5 separate regions of the Homo sapiens genome follow, and regions 1, 2, 3 and 4 are each linked to region 5. Evidence: promoter capture Hi-C in 16 types of primary human blood cells and fetal thymus (Javierre and others, 2016). All regions are on one chromosome and are shown on one strand. The core of a region is centred on a gene start or on the middle of the fragment in contact, and the rest is flanking DNA. Distances in the headings are between cores, read along the strand shown. Region 1 overlaps PELI1 (pellino E3 ubiquitin protein ligase 1). Region 2 has its middle 16 kb from the start of LINC01800. Region 3 has its middle 11 kb from the start of LINC02245. Region 4 overlaps LINC01800 (long intergenic non-protein coding RNA 1800). Region 5 holds the start of AFTPH (aftiphilin).

Region 1 (4,166 bases), core at 1,172-3,671, 380 kb before region 5:
ACTCTAAAGTATAAGACTTATTTTAGATAAGTGTATAAAATATTTTTCCTTTAAAGATGGATAACCAGCCCTACACAATTTAGTCTTCTCTAACCTTCCTTTCCCATGCTGATGCTGATTTTATGTACTCACGCTCACCCTGATCTAGTTACGCTAGTTTTTTTTGTTTTGTTTTGTTTTTTTTAGACAGGATCTGGTTATGCTGCTCAGACTGGTCTGGAACTCCTGGGCTCAAATGATCCTCCCACCTCAGCTTCTTGAGTAGCTGGCACTACAGGTGCAAGCCACTATGCCTGGCTCACACCCTTGTCTTCTTGTAGTTTCTTGCAGTTGTAGGCACGCTCCCATCTCAGGGCCACTGCACTTACTATTCCCTCTGTGTATAATGTCTTGCTCCAAGGAGACCTGCAAGGCTTGCTGTGCTACCTCCTTCAGGTCATTACTCACTTTAACTATTTATCATCTTCTCAATGAAGTCTTTTCTCACTACCCTTTAAAACTGCATCTTGGCCAGGTGTGGTGGCTCCCACCTGTAATCCCAGCACTTTGGGAGGCGGAGGTAGGTGATCACCTGAGGTCAGGAGTTTCAGACCGGTCCGGCCAACATGGTGAAACCCTGTCTCTACTAAAAATACAAAACTCTACTGGGCGTGGTGGCGTGTGCCTGTAATCCCAGCTACTCAGGAGGCTGAGGTAGGAGAACCACTTGAACCCAGGAAACAGAATTTGCAGTGACCTGAGATCGCCCCACTGCACTCCAGCCTGGGTGATGAGAGCAGAACTCCATCTCAAAAACAAAAAACAAGAAACAAAAAGCAAAAAACTGCATCCTCCTCCGAACCTCATACACATATCCCATTTATTCTCCCTTCCCCTTCCCTGCTTTATTTTCCTGTTTGTGTGTAAAACTGTTTATTAGGGGAAATTTCAAACATACACAAAAATAAAGAGGAAGTAAGAAACCTCATGTATCCATATAGCATCTACCTTCAGCAATTTTCAATATATGGCCAATCTTGTTTCATCTATGTTCCTCTCCCTTTCAATATTTTGAAGTAAAAACCCACACATCACATTTTAAGTTGTAAACACTTCATTATACATCTCTAAAAGAACACTTAAAAAGTACATTCTCACACCTGAAAAAATGGACAAATCCTTTTCATTAAATATCCAGAGTCTAAATTTCCCCAATTTTGAATAAATGTCTTTTTACAGTTAGTTTGCTCAAAGCAGGATAGAACTAAGCTTCATACATTGCATTTGGTGGAAAAGCCTCTTAAGTCTCTTTTAATCTTATAGTTCTCCCTCCCTATTTCTTGCTATTAATTTTTTGAATAAATCAGGTCATTTTTCTTTTATTTATTTTTTAACTTCTATTGTTTTGAGGCAGGGTCTCGCTCTGTTGCCCAGGCTGGAGTGCAGTGGTGCAATCATGGTTCACTGCAGCCTCAATCTCCCAGGCTTAAGTGATCTTCCCACCTCAGCTTCCCGAGTAGTTGGGACCACGTCCAGTTAATTTTTTAAGAAACTTCTTTGTAGAGACAAGGTCTCACCACGTTGCCCAGGCTGGTCTTGAACTCCTGGACAAGAGGGATCTTCCCACCTCAGCCTCTCAAGGTGCTAGGATTACAGGTGTCAGCAACTGCGCCCAGCCATTTTTCTTAAAACGCAATGTATTTTATTTATTTTATGGTTTGTGTCTTATTACTAGAATGTAAACACCATGAAAGCAGAGATTTTAGTCTATGAGGTATCAGCATCTAGACCTGTGACATGTAAACGGCATCAATAAACACTGAATGTATTTGGCATCCATGCCAAAAGTCCACCGCTCACCAACAGCAGAAATTGCTAATCACAGTACTCTTTCCTGCTAAGTTTGAACAAGGACTCCCAGTTTTCTAAACACAGCACTCTAGGCAGCCACCACTAAACAATCAGATTTGGTACCCCAAACGAAATTTATTTGCTGTCCCTGCTTTAGCCCCCTTCAAAAGTGTACTATCCCTAAAACAGATTTCATTGCACCTTGTATGTTGAAATTTTAGCATGATAAATTACTGACTGTGTTTCTTGTCAACTACATTTAAACATTTCTTAGCTTATTTTAGACAGCTTAGGGGAAAAAGAAAACTGTAGCCAAAAAAATAATAGAAAAAGAAACTGCAGAAGATGGTGGGAAACCGCGGGTATTACATATTTTTAGAATTAGCAACATCCCAAGAGGCTCATTATAAAATAAAAATTAGCAACAAATTTTCTGAAAAGGAAGTAAATTACATGTGTGTTGAATTAATTTTTTTAAAAACTACATGAAGATTAACTGGAGGATGAAGACAGATGTCAGGATTTTCCCATTTATAGGCATCAGCAACACATTCTATTTTTCTGCAACTGGTATTTTGAGGTGTAAAGGTATTACAGGGGCGATACAAGAGTACTATGTAGAACCCCATTTCTCTGAAGTGGAGTTTATGTGGCAAAAAGAATCTAAAACATCTAGTACAACATTCCGAAAAATTGTCAATTCTTCTTAAGAGTCATTTACAATTCATTTCTGTTAAACTACCAGATGAAGCTCTCTTTCTCTAGGCTTATTTCTGAAGGTAGGTAAGCTAACTGAAAGACTCCAATCAGATGTTTATGTTTTGATTACTTTTTTCTATCAAAAAAGAAAAAAATTAGAAATTCCCTGACATCCATTCAAGAAACACTGTGCTTTCTCTTTATTACCTGTAAATTCATTAAACAACAAAAAGTATTTAGGACCTACTAAACATAGTATGTTAGGCAGTTATTTTCAGCCTTTGAAGGAAAAATAGAAGTGATCTACTCAAGACAACATGCAAAAAAAAAAAACAAACAAACAAAAAAAAACCTAGGGGCAGAACTTGAAATCATATCCAGATCTTTCAATGACCAATAATTCTTGTCTTGAGGTTCCCACACATTAGTCTAGGGAAATATTCTATGGCACAGGTCACACTTAAAACTAAGAAAATATAATAAGCACTTCCCCTCCCCCACTACCACAAGTGTAAAAAAATCTCCAAGAACCCAAATCCCTTGAAAGAATGACTTCTATTTACTTTGCCTGTGTAATATATTCAGAGGGAATCTGGAAAAGATGGCTAGAAATCTATAAACAGAAAGTGCTAAGTGGAATTCACTGTTTATAGACTTCAACTAGAATTTTGTCCCTTATATATAAATGCTGCCAACAATCTTTACATTGTATTATTTAAAAACATCTTCATCAGGTTTTCTTCACTTTGCTGATTTTCTTCCTTTTCTCACTGGCTTTTAAATCTGCTTTACTGTCCTCAAAGACATAAATGTAACTTTTGGAATAACATGTTTCCCGCCCCCACCCCAAAGGAGCTCCTAAAGCCACCTCAGTGCCATCATATATTAGTCATTATGAAATTTTAATATTTACAGTTAAATATATCTGTATAATAAAATAATCCAAAAAGCCTTTCTAACCTAATAAATACTAGGATAGGTCTACATTGATGTATTATGGTAAAATGTGTATGTATATATTAGTTTTCAATTCTAAGTCTTTGGCTTAAAATCTTTATCAGCTATAGAAGCTTCTGCCTAAAAACATTAGTTGTCCACGAAGCATAATGACTATCTACAGTCCTTACCACCTGACCTACTAGAAAACCATAATACATCATATTCTGAAATGATAGAACTCTTAAAATACAAAAGTGACATTCTGACAACCCAGAAGAGGCTGAACTTAAATCAAATGGAAACATCCTTTGGCTTCCCCTTTGAAACTTGCCTCAGTGGCATTTGGCAGTACTAGACTAACTTCCTACCCCGTACTTTTCAGTCATTTCCTTTAAGGGGTCTCAAAGAAATTATGAAACCTGCAAAGCCAGACTTTGCCAGTCAACACTAACTTCTGCCTGTGGATTCCAGTGACTGAGCCAAGACAGTGTTAGTAGCTTCCTTGAAGTACAAATGTTCCTGGTAAATCTGGCTTGAAAATACCACAGAAAAAGTTCAACATAACCAACTGTAAGAACATTTAAATGCCAATCTTAAGGAAAGAATGGATTCCCTCCCCCTACAAATTCCACTGAGGCAAATTTCCAGCTTACTTTTTAGAAGCAAATAAATACTACTACTATTACATTACAGCACTT
Region 2 (4,354 bases), core at 1,573-4,072, 360 kb after region 5:
CAGGTCAGGAGTTTGAGACCAGCCTGGCCAACATGATGAAAACCTGTCTCTACAAAAAATACAAAAATTAGCTGGGCCTGGTGGCATGGGCCTGTAATCCCAGCTACTTGGGAGGTGAGACATGAGAATCGCTTGAACCTGGGAGGTGGAGGTTGCAGTGAGTTGAGATAGAGCCATTGCACTCCAGCCTGGGTGACAGAGCGAGACTCTGTCTCAAAAAAAAAAAAAAAAAAAAAAAAAAATACATGTTCCGATGAGCTGAGCAGAGAGGTTGGCCTTACAGACAGAAAAGAACTAGCGGGAGTGGAAGCAAAGAGCCAAGTGTATTAGTCACTTAAAGCTACTTTCCTTGTAAGGCACAGACAAGGAGATCGAAAAAATAGAAAAATCACTGATCAGTGAACCTCAGGTTATGCCAGGCTACCTTTTGTGTGCAAGGATTAAGGCAGAGGGAACTTCATTATCCTGTCTATTGAAGATTGAAGCTGGCCTGTTTGGGAAATTGGCTGTTATCTCTCTCTCCTGATTTCTCAGAACTATAGATAATAATTTAGGTTTAGTGATGTGAAACTTTAGCATGGGTGACTCCATTTTGACTTTAACTCTGGTCTTACTGGGACCTAGTGCAGAAGCTTAGCCCAAAAAAATGGCCTATCAATTTTATTTAACACGTGTTAGAATTTCATTCCTTTCTTCCTTTTCAAGGCTGAATAATATTTCATCATATGTGTACAACACAGTTTGTTTATCCAGTCCTCCGTAGATGGACATTTGGGTTGTTTTCACCAAAAGGTGAATCAAAAGGCTTCACCAAAAGGCTGCTGTGAATAGTGCTGCTGTGACTATCAATGTACAAATAGCGGTTCGAGTCCCTGCTTTCAAGTCTTGTGGTGGCTAGTCCATTTTCAGAAAGAAAACAATTAGCAGGCTGAGAACCCAGCCCGGGTGCAGAAGACGCTACGGCAGCACGTTCTTGTTTTTTCCATCACATCCGTTGAGTCTCCTCTGAGGCCAGCAAGCCCCTCACCTTTTGTCCTCCCTTGGTGCTCCAGCCCTTGGCTCTTGCTGCTCATCTCCATGGGGTCAAGGCCCTGGGAACCTGTGATCCTAGATCCGTCATTGAGAACAGTGGGGAGCTATAAGGTTCATGGTTATCTCTTCCATATTCTTCAGAGTTGTGCATCATTCAAGCAAAGCTTTTTTAATACTAGTTGTATCTTTCAGCATGATTTCAATGTGTTTTTGTCCCGAAGAACCCATTTCCCACCAGAGGCAGAGCATGGAAGGACTCAGTGTACGCATGTCACTAGGAATTTTTTGGTTGGGAATGGGCACATGGCCTCAGCTGGCTCACTCAGGCTGACAGGAAGGAGTTTTATTTCATGGCTGGGCAGGATGTTCCCTTTTTTCTCTGGAAGTGTTTCACTTGATATTGATCAAAAGAATGCTAGCTGAACCGTGAACAAAGCTGGCACCTGGAGACGAAGGCGGGGCTGAGAGAATAGCAGGACGTGTTCCTAGAGCCTTAATCATACAATGCCTGAAGCCCACCCTATCCAGTCTACCTGTGAGGAAGCTAATAAACTGCCTGTAATTTAAATCTGGTTTGCTAGGGTTTCTGATCCTCAGGGTCAAAAATATTCTAACAGACTCAGTCTGCATGGTGTTAGGGTTTTGATTTTCACCCCAAGAGGAGTGGAAAGTCATTAAGAGATTTCAGCAGGGCGAGTCCAGGGAGGGGTGACAAGATCAGGTCTGCATTTCAAAGCAGGACTCTGGCCGCAGGGTGGAAATGGGTAGTGGCTGGGATGGTTGTACTTGGGGGCTACTGGGCTAGCTCTGGGGAGAAGTTGTAGAGTAGGACAGAGGGGAACAGATCTGGAAGTTTTTAAGGAAGTTAATAAGGTTGATGAGACTTGATGACGGTTTGTGGGGATGGGGAGTGGGGTGACCTCTAGGCTTGTGGCTGGCTCAACTGGATGAACAGGGGTGCTACCCACCATGACAGGAATATGGTTGAGAAGAAGAGATGGAACACCAAAAGTGTCAGGTTCCTGGAGGGACTGGCCTTAGGTGGGAGTGGCGACAGCTAACATTAGTTTAGTGCTAGCCATGAACCAACTGTGGCCCAAAGTGCTGTACGTGTGTAAATTTATTAAGACAATGACCTTACGCCCATTTTACTGATGAGAAAACTGAGGCACCGAGAGGTTAAGTAATTTGCCCAAGGCCACACAACTGATTAGGAAATGGGAGTTGAATCCAAGCAGTTTGGTCCCGTGAGGTTCCCAAGGAATATATGTGCTGAGAAGGCTCCCATGAGCAAATGGCATGTAATGTCTGTAACACTATTATCTGGGGCTTGGGCCCCCAACTCCAGTGCAGAGAAAACTCTGGGAAGCTAGATTTTGATTCCCAGAACAGCCTCCCTTTTCTAAGTCAGTTAGGCCTAAATGGCTTCTGACGAAGCAGCCTGGGAGGCGTGCTCGATTTCACAGCCGCCACCCCAACTTGAGTCTCCAATCTCGCCACCGTGATCTGGGCAGCCTGGCCTAATGGATCCCCAGCAGGGCCAGGGTGAGAGGCTGTGTGTTTCCTGTGTGCCGATGCTGCTGCTTCAGCCTGCTGCCAGGAGGGAGGAAGAAAGGATGTCCATACAGAAAGGGAGACAGGGATGGGCTGGCTCAGAGGGAAGCGTCTGCCTATGCCAGGGTCACTTGGAAAGAAGAGAGAGAAGAGGGAGCCACCTGCATGGGCTTCACCTCCTTGGAAAACACCACCGCTGGAAAGTGTGGCCTGGTCTCTTGCTGAAACCATCACAGGGTTAACAAAAATTACATGCCAGGTTCTGACAGAAATATAATTAAGCATTAATCAGGCTGCACTTGGCACACTTCCTTGTAGCTGCTTGCTAAATAAAAGCCACACATGACCATTTGCATTCCCATTGTTCTTATGGATAGGATCTCTGAGGTTAGCATCATAAGGCTTTCGTTTAAGGATTGCTTAAGATGTTTTTCAGATCCTGAATTCCAGCGGAATGGCTGACGCCAACCAATCTGAAGGCCCCCACAGAGGAACCAAATTGGCATGAGAATGTAGTTTCATTCCCCCCATCCCATGGCTTCACCCTGCACTCTTTGGCCAAGGAATGATCCCCACATCTCAGCCCCACACTCATGCAGACCCCTTAAAATCTCTAGCCCCAACTCCTCAGGGAGGCAGAGTTGAAGTTCACTCTCATCTCCTCATTTGGTTGCTTTATGAGTAACCCTCTTTCTGTGCTGCACCTTGGTGTCTTGGTGTCATCACTTTCCACACATCGGGCAGCAAACCTGGTATGGTGACGTTGCCTGGAGCCAGATGAGCTCTCTTCTGTACATACAGAGATGTAAGTCTTCAGCATGGCTCGTCTTGTCAACACAGAGTGCTAACCAGCGTCCTCAACAACATCCTTCCACTGGACACAAAGAAGAGCTTCCTAGCACACTATTCTAGAACATCCTTCCGAGTAGGTGACTCCAAGGGTCAATGCAGCACTAAGGCTACAGAAGTGAGGGGAGGGGCTGTGTCTACCACCTATCTTCCTCATCACTCTCATCAAAAGGCATTTCACACTTATACTGTAAAAACGTCATGTGAATGTGGTTACTTCCTCTCCCTTTCTCTCTCTCTCTCAAAATATCTTATTGTATGTAATGCTTTTGAACCTCAGTTGACCATGGGTAACTGCAACCACGGAAAGTGAAACTGTGGATAAAGGGGTATGGACTCTTGCCTCATCTCCCACTACTGGATTATCAATTCCTTGAAGGCAGGGACCATGCCATTTAGTTCTGTTATGGCCACTGCTCCCAGCACAGTGCTTGGCACTTGTGGGCACCTTGTGAAACTGATCAAAGTCCCTATTTGTTCAGAAGCCGCCTGGTCACAAGCCAGATAAATCCAAAGTGTCTTCAGGCAGAAGGAGAGGTTTAAGAGACACAGATACATTGACAGCTCTATTGCATAGGAAAGAGTTGAAATGGTTTCAAAGATTTGTTGAGCATTTCTTATATGCAGCATGCAGGCTGTGGCGCTGGGGCACACAAAGATGAACTCATATCTCTCGCCCTCCAGGGCTTCACCCTTGAAGGGGAGATACACATACTGCTGGCTACCATGCAGTGGACCAGGCGGGTATTGATGAGTATGGACAAAGGGATCCTAGAAGAAATGGGATCTGTTTTGGGGTGGGAAGATGGGTTGGGTGACAGAAGAGGCTAAGGAATGGCTTTTATAGAGGATATGACACTTGAGTGGGCTTTAAATGCTATAAATATAATTATCATAACATAAAATTAGCACTTTAAAG
Region 3 (3,818 bases), core at 585-3,084, 420 kb after region 5:
TGGAAAGACCATGATAAGTGCCGGGGACTCAGCCTCTTCTTCCCCTCCTCATCCTGGCCAGAGGAAGGCAGTGATTCTCCAGAGAAGACCCAGATGGATGCCTGGGTGGCTGCCCAAGGCCTAGACTGGAGGGAACCATTGGGCAGGGAGTGACTGGAAACCCATTTGGCCCTCACAACAAAGGCACATTTGCTAACTGCTTATTCAGGAATAAAGGTGAGGTTTGACTTCCACGAGGAGGCCATCTGTGTCTATTTCTCAAACTGCTTTCACAGTGAGAATGAAAACAAATAATAATAATAATAACAATAATAATAAAGGGAGCCTGGATTACTAGTCTAGACTTTTCAAAAGGTTTTCTTTTCCATGTTCTACATAATAGCCAAAGTGATCCTTCTGACATGCAAATCCAATCATTCTGTTTCCCCTGAACAAAACCATATCCTGGCATCTCATTGCCTTCATGATAAAATCCAACTCTTTAACAGGGCCTGAAGTACCCTTGGTGATCTGGTCCATGTTTAGCTCTCCAGACTCAATTCTCACCACTTCCTTCCTTGCCCTCTCTGCTTGTTGGGCAGCCATGGAATTGCACCATCGAGGTCTCCGGCTGCAGGGAGCAGTCAAGTGACAGCCACAGTTCCCGCCCTTCAGGATCCCTCACTGCATCCCTCCAAAGCCACACGTCCCCTGAGCTAATTCCAGCCAAAGGCTGAGCATAACACGGCACTAGCTTCTGCCTGATGGGGAATTCCTCTGAGGGCCAGCTTTGGCTCAGGGACTCCCCATCTGCCTGGCCAAAACCTTCTTAGAACCATGCTGCAGTCTGAGACTTTCCTCTCCAATCATCCTTCCTGCCCTGGCTCCTTCCATGGGGTCAGACCCACATCATGATTCAGAAGCTCCAGCAGAAAGCTCTTCCTTTCGCTGCCTGCTCCTCCTGCTCTGTTAATGAACATGCCTGTCATACAGAACTACCTCCCATCATGTTCTGCTCTCCTCCCCTGGTTTTGTACATGCTGCTCCCTCTGCCTGGAAGATTCTCTCTTCTCTCCCTGACCCTTTCCCTGGTCAATCTCTATGCATCCTACAGGATCTAGCTTAGTGGTCACTTTGTTCACCCAAGACAGGCATTGATGGCTCACCGTGGCCCAGGCATTGTTCTGGGAGTGCACTGGGGATGCAATAAGGAATACAAAATAGGTAAAGCCCCTGCGTTCACCAAGCTTACTTTGTGGTGGGTAAATGGTCAATAAACATATTTTTCAAAACAGATCCACAATCCGCTGGTAGAAAAGATCAGTACTGTAAAGAGAATAAAGCAGCATGAGGGCATGGAATGGAATGATAAAGGCGGCAGGGTGGGTAGGGATTGTTTTAGACAGAAAGATTGGAGAAGGCTCCTTGTGGAGGTGATGCCTGAGCAGAGTCCTGAATAACATGAATGAGTGGGTCATGGAGCCATCTGGGGGAAGCTCTTTCCAGGCCAGGGGAAGGCATCCAGACAGCAGAGGGCAGCTGCAGTGGCCTGCCGCCCATGGCTCTGGGGTGGGTGCCCCTCCTGTGGGCTCCTGCAGCCACTCTTGCTTCCCTAGCAGAGGGCATATGTACTAGTTAAGGGAAACTGGTTGACTGGTCTGCCTCTCCTTCAGACAGCCACCCGGTGAGGACAGGACACTTGCTCGTCAGCCTAACTGGTTAGTACCCTATCCCCTGAGCCTTGCACAGCTCTCGACATGCAGTAAGTTCTGATGGCTGAATGCGTAATTACAATAATAGCTGTCCGTTCATGGAGCACTTACGGTGTGCCTGGCTCTGTGCTGAAGGTTTCACTCATACTTTCTCACTTAGTATTCCTAACAGCAAAGTAGGTAGCATTATCATCCCCAGGTATACGGCCACAATAGGCTATTCACACTTTCTCTGCCAGGCCCAAGGAAACAGGCACAGAGAATTTAAATCACGTATCATGGCTCTACAGCTGAAAAGTGTATTTCAAGATGTATAAAGGCTGGGTGTGGTGGCTCACACCTATAATCCCAGCACTTTGGGAGTCTGAGGTGGGAGGCTTGCTAGAGGCCAGGAATTCAAGACCAGCCTGGGCAAGATAGTGAGACTCTGTCTTTACAAAAAAAAAAAAAAAAAGAAAAGAAAAATTAATTAGCTGGGCGTGGTGGTACACGCCTGTGGTCCCAGCCGCTCAGGAGGCTGAGAGAGGAGGATCACTTGGGCCCAGGAGTTTGAGGCTGCAGTGAGCTTTGATCACACTCAGAGGCGTGAGGTGCCCCCAGCATGGTATGATTTAGAGGGTGGAATTCTAACAGAAGGCTCCTAGCATTTTAGTGTCAGAAGGGACATTTAGAAGATCCCATCCCATCCGCTGCACACAGGGACGCTGAGTCAGAAGGCTGAGGTGACTCTCAGGCTGCCTTACTGTTTGCTCAAGCTTAAACTTGACAACAAGGATTACAAAAGCCATTTGATCAGAGGCCTGGCACTGCTTAACTGAAATGAGAAAACATGTTGCCGTAAGGATGATTATGTAAAGGGGGGATGCGGTTCCCAGACTGGCCTTGCTCGTGTCTGCTGGAGCCCTGCCACAGTTACTCCAGCATCCTGCCCACACTGGCAAGCCCCGGCAGCCTTGGCCTGCTCTTTGCCTTAGCGTTGCCATGCTGCTTGCTTCAATGCCAACTGGCCCCATGTGCCGGCCACTCCCTGCCACTTTGGCAGTTCCTCTGGTGCTCCTGGCAGTGCCAGGCATTATGCCATGGTTCAGGCTTTCCCCACCCCTGGAGCAAAAGAAATGTGCAAAAGGCCCATCGTTCTTACCATGGGAGAGGATGCATTCAGCCCCATCATTTTACAGCAGTGAAAACTGAGTCCCGGAGGGATGACGTGACTTGCCCAAGGTTCCAAAGCTGGTTGGGGACAGAGCCTAAGCAAGACTCTTGTTCATGGTTTCTTCCTCCTTTGGGGCCTCTGCCTCCTCTCTGGCTCTCCTCTCTAGTGATCCCCATGCTGCTTCCCTCTCCAGACCAGAAAGCTGTCTTCCTGTCCTCGCCCAAGGCCCCAGCATTAGTCCCAGCCGCCATCCCTCATGCCCCATCACCTCCTCTCTCAGCCTCTGCTCTGCTCTGCTCTGCTCTTGCCCCTCCAATCCATTCTCAAAAAAATAAGCCAGGTCACATTACTTCCCTACCAAAAGCCCCTGATCACTCCCCCTCACCCAGAGGAGGGATCCTTGGCATGGCATTCTGTTCCTCCCCAGCCTAGTCCTAACTGACCTCTGCAGGTTCATTCCTAAGGCGTCCCTACACACCCCTGACATTCCAGCCACACTACTCAACTACCCCATAGGCTGCTGCGAGAATTAAATAACATCTGATAAGCCGACAGCACCTGGAGTGTAGTAAGAGCTGTCACCTGTGTGGGCTGGGCACTTCTCCACCAGACTAAATTCTAGAGCCCACCTGAGCTGGCTAGTGGGCGAGCACTGCTCTGCTCTCTGAGCCAGGACACATGTCCTTAGCTGTGACCCTGGCCAGACCCTCACCTCCCCGGGTCCAGGTTACATGCCCCAAGAAAAAAGGTACAATGAAGAACCCCTCTGCTGTCCACGATTTCTCAGGAACTTTTTCGGTTTTTGAGAAAAAAATTTGAAGTGGTTCCTATGAAATGGCCACATGGTTTATTATTAGTTCCTGGCCCTCAAGAGCAGCGGGGAGCTACTGTCCCCCTTGGGTCCCTACCGTCATAGCTGCAGGTCTCAACTTGGGGCTGGGGAAAGACACCCGGAATATTCCCCATGGGGCACA
Region 4 (4,117 bases), core at 99-2,598, 330 kb after region 5:
AAGTAATTCTCCCACCTCAGCCACTCTCTCCCCAAAACTCCACTTCCCACCCCCAGTCACAGAAACTGCTGACATACACCCCAATGCCTGGCTCTTTTTTCTTTTTCAATACATAAGAAATAAAATCGAATGAAAATTTGGCAGGGAGGAAGAAGTATACGGGCTCTCATGTAACTGCAAAGTCCAGTATGAATCCTGCTGACTTCAGACATGGCTGTATCCTGAGGTTCAGCAATGTTGTCAGGGTTTTGTCTCCATCCCAGCAGCCCTTGTGTGTGGGAGGAGAGGGACACTGCCAGTTCTGGTGTCACATGAGGCTGAGTAAAGAAGAGAGGAAGCTGCTTCCTGGAATGGGTCATGTGAACATGCAGATATAGACACATCCTTGGTCCAATCACCAAGGACTCCAGGGTATGGAGTCTTCTGACTGATCTGGCTCAAGCTATGTGGTCACCCCCATGGTTAGCCCACGCTGGAGGTAAGAGGCAAAGTGTGAGGTCAACACCACCCAAACCTTATGGACTGAATGGTCTCTTTGGAATAAGGAAAGGTGATTGCCAGGCAGAGGAAAGAATGCTGGGTAGCAAAATGAATCCTCCATAGGGCCTTCACTAGCCTTTCTTGCCCTCCATCCAGGAAGAGCCTCCATTCTTTCCCTACCATGTGCAAAGACTCCACCCTATCCCTAAGCATCTCTGCCTACTTGGACCTCCCTGGGCAGCACAACTACACTCAGGAGCAGAAACCCAACCCTGGAGGTCATTGTGTTAATTTTGCTTTCCAGAGAGCAACTTGGCACTGCACTGAATTCTGATGTTCTTATTATCCTTTAACTCTGCATGGATGCTTTTAGGAATATGTTCTAAAGAAAAATTCAGCAAGATGCAAAGATGTACGAACATAAGGATGACCTTAGGTAACCATTTATTAACTTCGAAACAACATAAGTGGGCATCAACAGGGGAGGGGTTGGCCAGGTGCAGTGGCTCACACCTATAATCCCAAAACTTTGGAAGGCTGAAATGGGAGGATTGTTTGAGCTAGGAGTTTGCGGCCAGACTGGACAACATAGTGAAACACCATCTCCACAAAATTTTTTAAAAAGCCAGATGTGGCCGGCCATGGTGGCTCATGCCTGTAATCCCAGCACTTTGCGAGGCCGAGGCAGATGGATCACCTGAGGTCAGGAGTTCGAGACCAGCCTGGCCAACATGGTGAAACACTCTCTACTAAAAATACAAAAATTAGCTGGACATGGTGGCATGCACCTGTAATCCCAGCTATTCTGGAGGCTGAGGCGGGAGAATTTCTTGAACCTGAAAGATGGAGGTTGCAGTAAGCTGAGATCACGCCATTGCACTCCAGCCTGGGTGACACAGCGAGACTCCATCTCCAAAAAAAAAAAAAAAAAAAAAAAAAAAAAGCAAGATATGGTGGTGTGCATCTGTAGTCACAGCTATTTAGGAGGCTGAGGTGGGAGGACTGTTTGAGTCCAGGGGTTTGAGGCTACACCACTCCACTCTAGCCTAGGAAACAGAGTGAGACTCTATTTAAAACAAACAAACAACAACAATGACAAAAATCGGTAAGTGGGGGTTAAATAAATTATGATGAAGACAAATGAAGGCCAACCATGCAGCTGTTTCAAAGGATAATTCATTTCTGCATTTATTGACCATAAGATTTAATTGTTTTTTTTTTTAAAAAAAAAGATCATGTAAGTACCAAATATATCCTCATTAGTATAGTGGTGAATTAAAAATTTTTTTGAAAGGCCGGGGGGTGGCTCACGCCTGTAATCCCAGCACTTTGGGAGGCCAAAGTGGGTGGATCACATGAGGTCAGGAGTTCGAGACCAGCTTGACCAACATGGTGAAACCCTGTCTCTACTAAAAATAGAAAAATTAGCTGGGCATGGTGGCATGGGCCTGTAGTCCCAGCTACTTGGGAGGCTGAGGCAGGAGAATCACTTGAACCCAGGAGGCGGAGGTTGCAGTGAGCTCAGATCGAGCCACTGTACTCCAGCCTGGGCAACAGAGCGAGACTCTGTGTCAAAAATAAATTAATTAATTTAAAATTAAAATTTTAAAATGTTTTATAAGTAAAAGTAAATATAGTATGACCCCATCTTTTAAAAACATAATTCTTGTAAATCAGAGGGGAGACCATAGGGTCCAATCCCTCTATAGACTTAATGCACAGTTTAGTGCTCAAAATTAATACAGAATAAATTCCATTATTTGATCACGTATTTGGAAGAACATTAAAAGACTCTGGGTCATAGTCGTGTTAGCTCATCTCAGAAGCCCCTTCCTCCACATCTGATTATTTAGAGAGCCTCAAATGTGCTAATCTCTGAAAACTCTGTTGAATTCCCTTCCATAAGGCTTTTCCCTGTCTGGACGTCTTCCTTAGCCCATTCCATTCCTTCATCATGCAGATCAGCTTAGCTCCTCTCAGCAAGTAATAATTGTTCCTCTCCCTAGAAGAGAGAAGTGAAGGAAACCAAATAGACAAATTCAAGATTTTCTTCAGTAGACAGGGGCAGGAAGAATGCTAAGAGCATGACCATGTTAACAATTTTAGCTCACATAAAAACATATGTCTGTATGCACAGAAAATAGTATGGGAAAAATATACAAAAATGTTATCAGGGCTATCACTGGTGGCGTGGTGACAGGTGATTTTTGTTCCCTTCTTTATTTTTTTTGTCTGAATTTCTTTTTATAGAGCATGTTCTACTTTTATATTCAGAGTTTTTTTTTAAGTCATCATACTTCAGCATATTTCTTTTTCTTCTTTCTTTTCTCAAGATCTAGCAAAGGATAAAGAGAATTCAGTTGCAAAATCCAATCCTCAACACAGGATGATTTATCTTTTTTTCTTTAATTTTAGAACTTTAAAAAAGTAACCCCCTTCCACACATACCAGCATGAATAAAAGACTATTCCTTTGTAGGTTTATGAATTCACTCATAACACGCAACTGTGCAAATTCATTTAAAATTAAGTAGCCTGAGCACGTGGTTAAGGACTGAGTTTGCTCCAGGGGCCAAGGTCAGTCCCTCCACAGTAGGAACAGCTTTTCTGCAAACAGTTTCCCTGCAAACTCCCCTTCCTCACAGAGAAGCTGGCCCAGGCACCATGCAGCCTGGCCACTGAGGTGTTGGTGACCCCACGCTGCCACACTGGCGTTTCCATAACCCCCTTGTGTGAGCCTCCAATGGCCGGAGGGGCCTTGGCTGTGGGTGTGAAGACAGTGGGGGCCCCTGCTCTGCAGACTTGCGGTGCGAAAACTCTGGGGTCTGAGCAGGGTAAAAATCACTCTGCTGCCTGCTTTCCTCTTCCTGCTGGGTTCCTCCCAAGCTGCTCTCCCATCTCCCCTGGGACCTCTCTGGCCAGCTCAGCTTTTGTGTTTGGGCCAGGCGGGAAGAAGCACTTGGCCCGACTCCTTGCTTGTCAGAAGTCCAGCATTACCAGGGGTCTTGCCTGGTTTCAAGTATTTCCCGGTGCCTTTCCTCGCTCTGTAGTCAAGTTTCTAGCCAGGATTTCTTGGCTCTGGGAAAGATTGAATGCCTGTCTGAGCCTTCTGGGCCTGTGTTTCATTTGCAGCTGCCTGGCCCTACACTGGGTGACAGTCTCAGCCCTCCCCAGGGCAGCCCGTCCCCTCCTGCTTGGCCAGCAGAGGAGGCCCTTTGTGTCGCTGTCTTGGTGCTGGAGTGGAAGTGAGGCTTCTAATTATCGTCCCCAGCCCCGTGTCCTGGGTTTACTTCGGCTCCAGCCCAGCGTCAGGGGCAGCACTCCCTTCTGAGAGCAAGCAATTCCTGCCTGTCTGTGAGACCAAGCAGACAAGAATGCCAACCGCCAGCAGCCCCAGCCCCTAACTGTTTCTAAGTCAGACTAGGACCTGTTCAGAACCTGGCACTTTCCTGCTAGAAATTTCCAGCTGCTCTGATCTTTCCTGTAGGGCTTGGCAAGGCCAAAAAGGTCTGGAACCAAAAGAATTCATAAGAACATCAGGCCTGGGCCGGTGGGCACCTCTCCCTCTGTCTGCTCAGGGACTCCCCAGTCACTTCCTACTGTTGGATTCATCCAGGGTGAGGGCCTGGTGGGGCTGC
Region 5 (3,836 bases), core at 1,089-3,588:
TATCATTCACTGCTGGTTGGTAAGGAGGTGGTAAAATTAGTGCACTCATATATTGCTGGTGGCATTCTAAATTAGCAGTCTCTTGGAAAATAATATGAGATGATAAATTACCAATAAAACATTCATTGCCTTTTCGCTTAGTAACTTTTATACTGAGAAAAAAAATTCTAAAATTGAACAAAGCCACACACACAAAATGTTCATCTAAGTATTATTTTATAATACTGAAAACTATCCATATAGTGGTCATTCCATTGACTACTAAGCAGCCAATTAAAATTAAGGTTTTACATTAAACGATGGGTGGAAATGCTTACAACACAAAAGGGACACAAAATCTACTTAAATTATGATTACAAGTTTGTAAAAAGTACGCACAGGAAAAAAAAACTAGAAGTAAATACAACAAATGTTAACTGGTAATTTTTTTCTTCTTCTTTTCTTGATGCCAAATCTTAGGTAATGCAGTTATGGCCATAATTTTTAAAAGGTAAATAAAAACAATACTATCATTGACTCCAAATGAAATGGACTTTATATTTCCCACAGATTTATCACCTTAAAAACACTCAAATACTTTCCCTTTGTAATAAAATGTCATGAGCATTAGGGCACTGTCTTCGGAATTACATGTAAGATTACCAATTACAAGTTAGTTGGCCAAATAGGTACTCAATTTCCCTATTACAAAATTGTAAGCTGATGGGGGGTGTGCAATTTAATTTAATTTTTTTTTAGACAGGGTTTCACTCTGTCGCGCAGGCTGGAGTGCAGTTTAAATTCATTTAGTTTAAACATGTTCTTAGTGTAGGGTCTGCTTTAAGGTCTAGTCATATGTTCTTATTTTGATATTTCTGTTTAGTAGAGCTGTAAAATGAAAACAAGCATGTGTTCGTTTAAAATCAATTTCTAGTTTCTACACACACACAAATTCAAGCTTGCACACGAGCTAAACCAGCAGGGGGCGAAATACAATAGGCATAAATTTGACAAGCCATATAGATTTTTCTTACTTTAGTGACTGAGCAATAACACAAAATCCAGCATAACCACAAAGCAATTGATACTCCCATTTAAAGTGATGCAGTCTCCGTATATCTTACAGCGATTGAATAGTAAAGAGACAAATGCGGGTCCATTGGAGCGCTCCGAGTTAATTTGTCTAGAACATTGCAGAGGCGGGATAAATCGTGATGAACTGCTATTGTCCTTATCTTTCTCCTGATTTGTATAATTCCTCCACCCAAAGGGGTGGACACTTCTCTGTGCCTGAGGGGATGTTTTCCATTCTTGTTTCTTTGCGTAACTGCTGAGCTTTGCTGTTTTGGAACTATTTTAAATTATTCAAATTACTGATGCAGACGTTTGGCAAATATGGGCAGAATGAGGGGCCGGCGGGGGTCATGATTTGTAGGACCCCGGGCTCATCATCCGAGACAGTAATCATAATCCTGTAGCCTTGTAGTCTGATTGTTACACTGGCAGGTGTTCTAACAGATATTCATTGTAAAGGAGGAGGAAAGGTAATATTTTTATTACCTTTATATAAATAACAGTTGATTATATAAATAATCAACTGTTCAGGACTGATGATGGAAACAAAATCGGTTACGACCTCTGTTCCAGAAATGCGTTTGAATGCATAAGTTTATGGTGATCTCTTTAGCTTCACTAGATATTCTCCGTAAGGGTCTATGAAAAACGACCACCTTCTCCATCCATTAGCCAAATTCCGGACTACTATTTTCTTGTCGGTCTCGAAGACGATTTGTCAGTTTGGCGGCTGCTTTCCCACCTTAAATTCTATTTATCGCAACCTCTTGTTATTTGTTAAATATCAGCTTCTTCCTCTGTCGGCATAAATTTAAAAAGAGGAAGAGACAGGCTGTGAATGAAAAAGTCGTTTTTCGGGGCGAAAAGGGCAAGCTGACGAATGCTCTCTAGTAGGTTTTTGGTAAAAATGTGGTTCTATATTTCCAAACCTTTACAATTTTATTTGGAGAGCAAGAGACTTAATCCGGTCTTGAGCTGAACGTTAACCGGCTGAAAGGAGCACCTGTCCTTCGCCAGGAGCGCAGCCTCAACCGGCGCCTGAGTGCGGGAAGACGTCTATCCCCCTACAGCTCTATGACTCGCAAGGAAGTAAAAGGAAAGGGCAGCTTGCCCGCACCCAAAATGGCGGTCGGCGCTCTGCACGACAGCGCCTGCGCAGGGATAAGCGTTCTGTGACACCAATTCCCCTGGAGTGTCCTCCCCCACCCCACAGCACCCACCAGCGCCCGGTCCCGACCTAGCCACCTGCGCCCGGAAGTGACGTGTCGGCGGCAGCGGTTCCCCCGCTGCATGATGGGAGAGTGTGTGGAGTGGGCGGGGGGTCTCCGCGGAGGAGGTGGAGGAGGCGGCGGCGGCGGCGGAAGAGGGCGGAGGGTAGTGGGATGGGGGTCCCGCGGCAGCGGTGAAACTCCGGGTGGGCGTCCATGGTGCTGCTGCGCTGACAGGGCTGTGAGCAGCCGGCCTTCCGCTCTCACCAGTTCCGCGTCGGAATAGACGGTCCTTCCCCGGGGAGTCAGTTCCTCCCCGGGCCCCTGAGCCATGCCCATCGCAGCCGCCCCGAAGGAGCCAGGTAAGCGCCGCCGCTCCGCTCCCCTAGCTGCGCCGGGGAAAGAGGGTGCGGGGACCAGGCCCGGCCCAGCAGCCAGACCCTCACCCGGGCCGGGAGCATCTGCCCGCCGCGGAGCCGGGAGCTGTGAGGACGGAGCTGGCTCTGCGGGCCTGCGGGCTCCCGGCTCTGCTCTCTTCTGCGGCGAGTGCGGGAACGCCGCTGGTGGCGCCCGAAGCGCACGGCCCCCTCCTCGCCATCCCGGGCACCGGCCGGGTAAGTGGGAGTCCTTCCCTCCCCGGCCACCGCCGGCTCTCCCTGCCCCTTTGCTTCCACCTCCCAAAGCTCCGCGCTGGCTGCGTTCTCCAGGGAGCTGTTCAGAAGTTTGGGGCTTTGCTTGGGCTTCTTCGCTCTCCTTCCCCCTCCCTCGTGACAGGTGTAAACACTGCCTCCTTCACCGAGGCCCGAGGCTGGCCGCGACCTGAGTGTGCTGCTTCCAAGGGTCTCTGAAGCAAGCGAATTTGGAATCCTCCAACAGGCAGAGGGGACAGCCCCAAAGCTCACGCATCCCTTCCTCAGAGTACCTTTTCTGCTGTCTTCTTGCACTCTTCAAGAAATTATCTGCGTCTCCTCTCCAGTTTGCGTTTGAAAAGTTGGACCATATTCCTTAAGTGCCTGGTTTGGCAGGTGCTGCGTCTTGCTTGGGGCAGAGGCAGAGTATGGAGTGAGGGGTGGTAGGGTCCTTGCTCTATTAGGAAAGTAATGGGGATAGCAAGGTTTTTTTTTCCTTGTTGCTTTGTGCAAGTTATAGCTTGGTTATACTGAATCTTTTCTGTTGGGGCCGAGGGAAGAACTGACTCATACATGTAAATTTTTTACTGGGCGGGGGGATGAAACAAAAGTAATGGTTCCGTTTCAAAGTTCTCACTTTAGGAGAAGTAAAGTAGAACTTTGGTTTTCAACTTTTCCTACAGTGTAAGTCTTCCTTCCACCTCCTATTCCGAGGATTTTATTTGGTGGAGGGGAGACACAGAGTTTATCTTTGATGCTACACTTAATTGTTGCTTTCAGTTAACCTCTTAGACATTAAAATATATGCTAAACTCTAGGGACAACAAATGTTTCAACATTATTATGTTAATATAATTAACACAGTCACGTACATTTTATATGCTTTACCAGTTTAAATGTTGGCTTTTTTAGTAGTCATTTTTAACACTTCGCAGAGGTATATTTG

Evidence for each region. The method cuts DNA at HindIII sites, captures the fragments that hold promoters and counts their contacts. A CHiCAGO score of 5 or more calls a contact.
Region 1: a contact is called between a fragment that was not itself captured here and the fragment with the promoter of AFTPH in region 5, in 3 of 17 cell types (non-activated CD4 T cells, neutrophils and total CD8 T cells). The highest score is 5.6, in non-activated CD4 T cells.
Region 2: a fragment that was not itself captured here is called in contact with the fragment with the promoter of AFTPH in region 5 in 15 of 17 cell types (M2 macrophages, neutrophils, total CD8 T cells and 12 more); the score reaches 13.5 in M2 macrophages.
Region 3: a contact is called between a fragment that was not itself captured here and the fragment with the promoter of AFTPH in region 5, in 1 of 17 cell types (monocytes). The highest score is 5.6, in monocytes.
Region 4: a fragment that was not itself captured here is called in contact with the fragment with the promoter of AFTPH in region 5 in 13 of 17 cell types (neutrophils, naive CD8 T cells, activated CD4 T cells and 10 more); the score reaches 12.6 in neutrophils.

What each region holds. Positions count from the first base shown.
Region 1 is chr2:64,137,938-64,142,103 of GRCh38, forward strand. The region is part of intron 1 of PELI1 (pellino E3 ubiquitin protein ligase 1); the gene reads right to left. Among named protein-coding and RNA genes, the nearest start is that of PELI1, 4.4 kb to the right of the region's middle. The HindIII fragment of the contact is 2,351 bases long and covers 1,247-3,597 here.
Region 2 is chr2:64,877,759-64,882,112 of GRCh38, forward strand. No RefSeq gene overlaps it. Among named protein-coding and RNA genes, the nearest start is that of LINC01800, 16 kb to the left of the region's middle. The HindIII fragment of the contact is 3,256 bases long and covers 1,195-4,354 here.
Region 3 is chr2:64,941,349-64,945,166 of GRCh38, forward strand. No RefSeq gene overlaps it. Among named protein-coding and RNA genes, the nearest start is that of LINC02245, 11 kb to the left of the region's middle. The HindIII fragment of the contact is 1,220 bases long and covers 1,225-2,444 here.
Region 4 is chr2:64,854,603-64,858,719 of GRCh38, forward strand. All of the region lies in intron 1 of LINC01800 (long intergenic non-protein coding RNA 1800), which reads right to left. Among named protein-coding and RNA genes, the nearest start is that of LINC01800, 7.0 kb to the right of the region's middle. The HindIII fragment of the contact is 8,781 bases long and covers 1-4,117 here.
Region 5 is chr2:64,521,990-64,525,825 of GRCh38, forward strand. AFTPH (aftiphilin) reads left to right here and starts at 2,339. Exons shown (of 10, transcript NM_203437.4): 1 at 2,339-2,623. AFTPH-DT (AFTPH divergent transcript) reads right to left here and starts at 2,166. Exons shown (of 1, transcript NR_136167.1): 1 at 200-2,166. MIR4434 (microRNA 4434) reads left to right here and starts at 3,524; the gene lies at 3,524-3,576. RefSeq lists enhancers at 1,896-2,115, 2,217-2,717, 2,718-3,218 and silencers at 2,316-2,475, 2,506-2,585, 2,596-2,845. The HindIII fragment of the contact is 6,179 bases long and covers 936-3,836 here.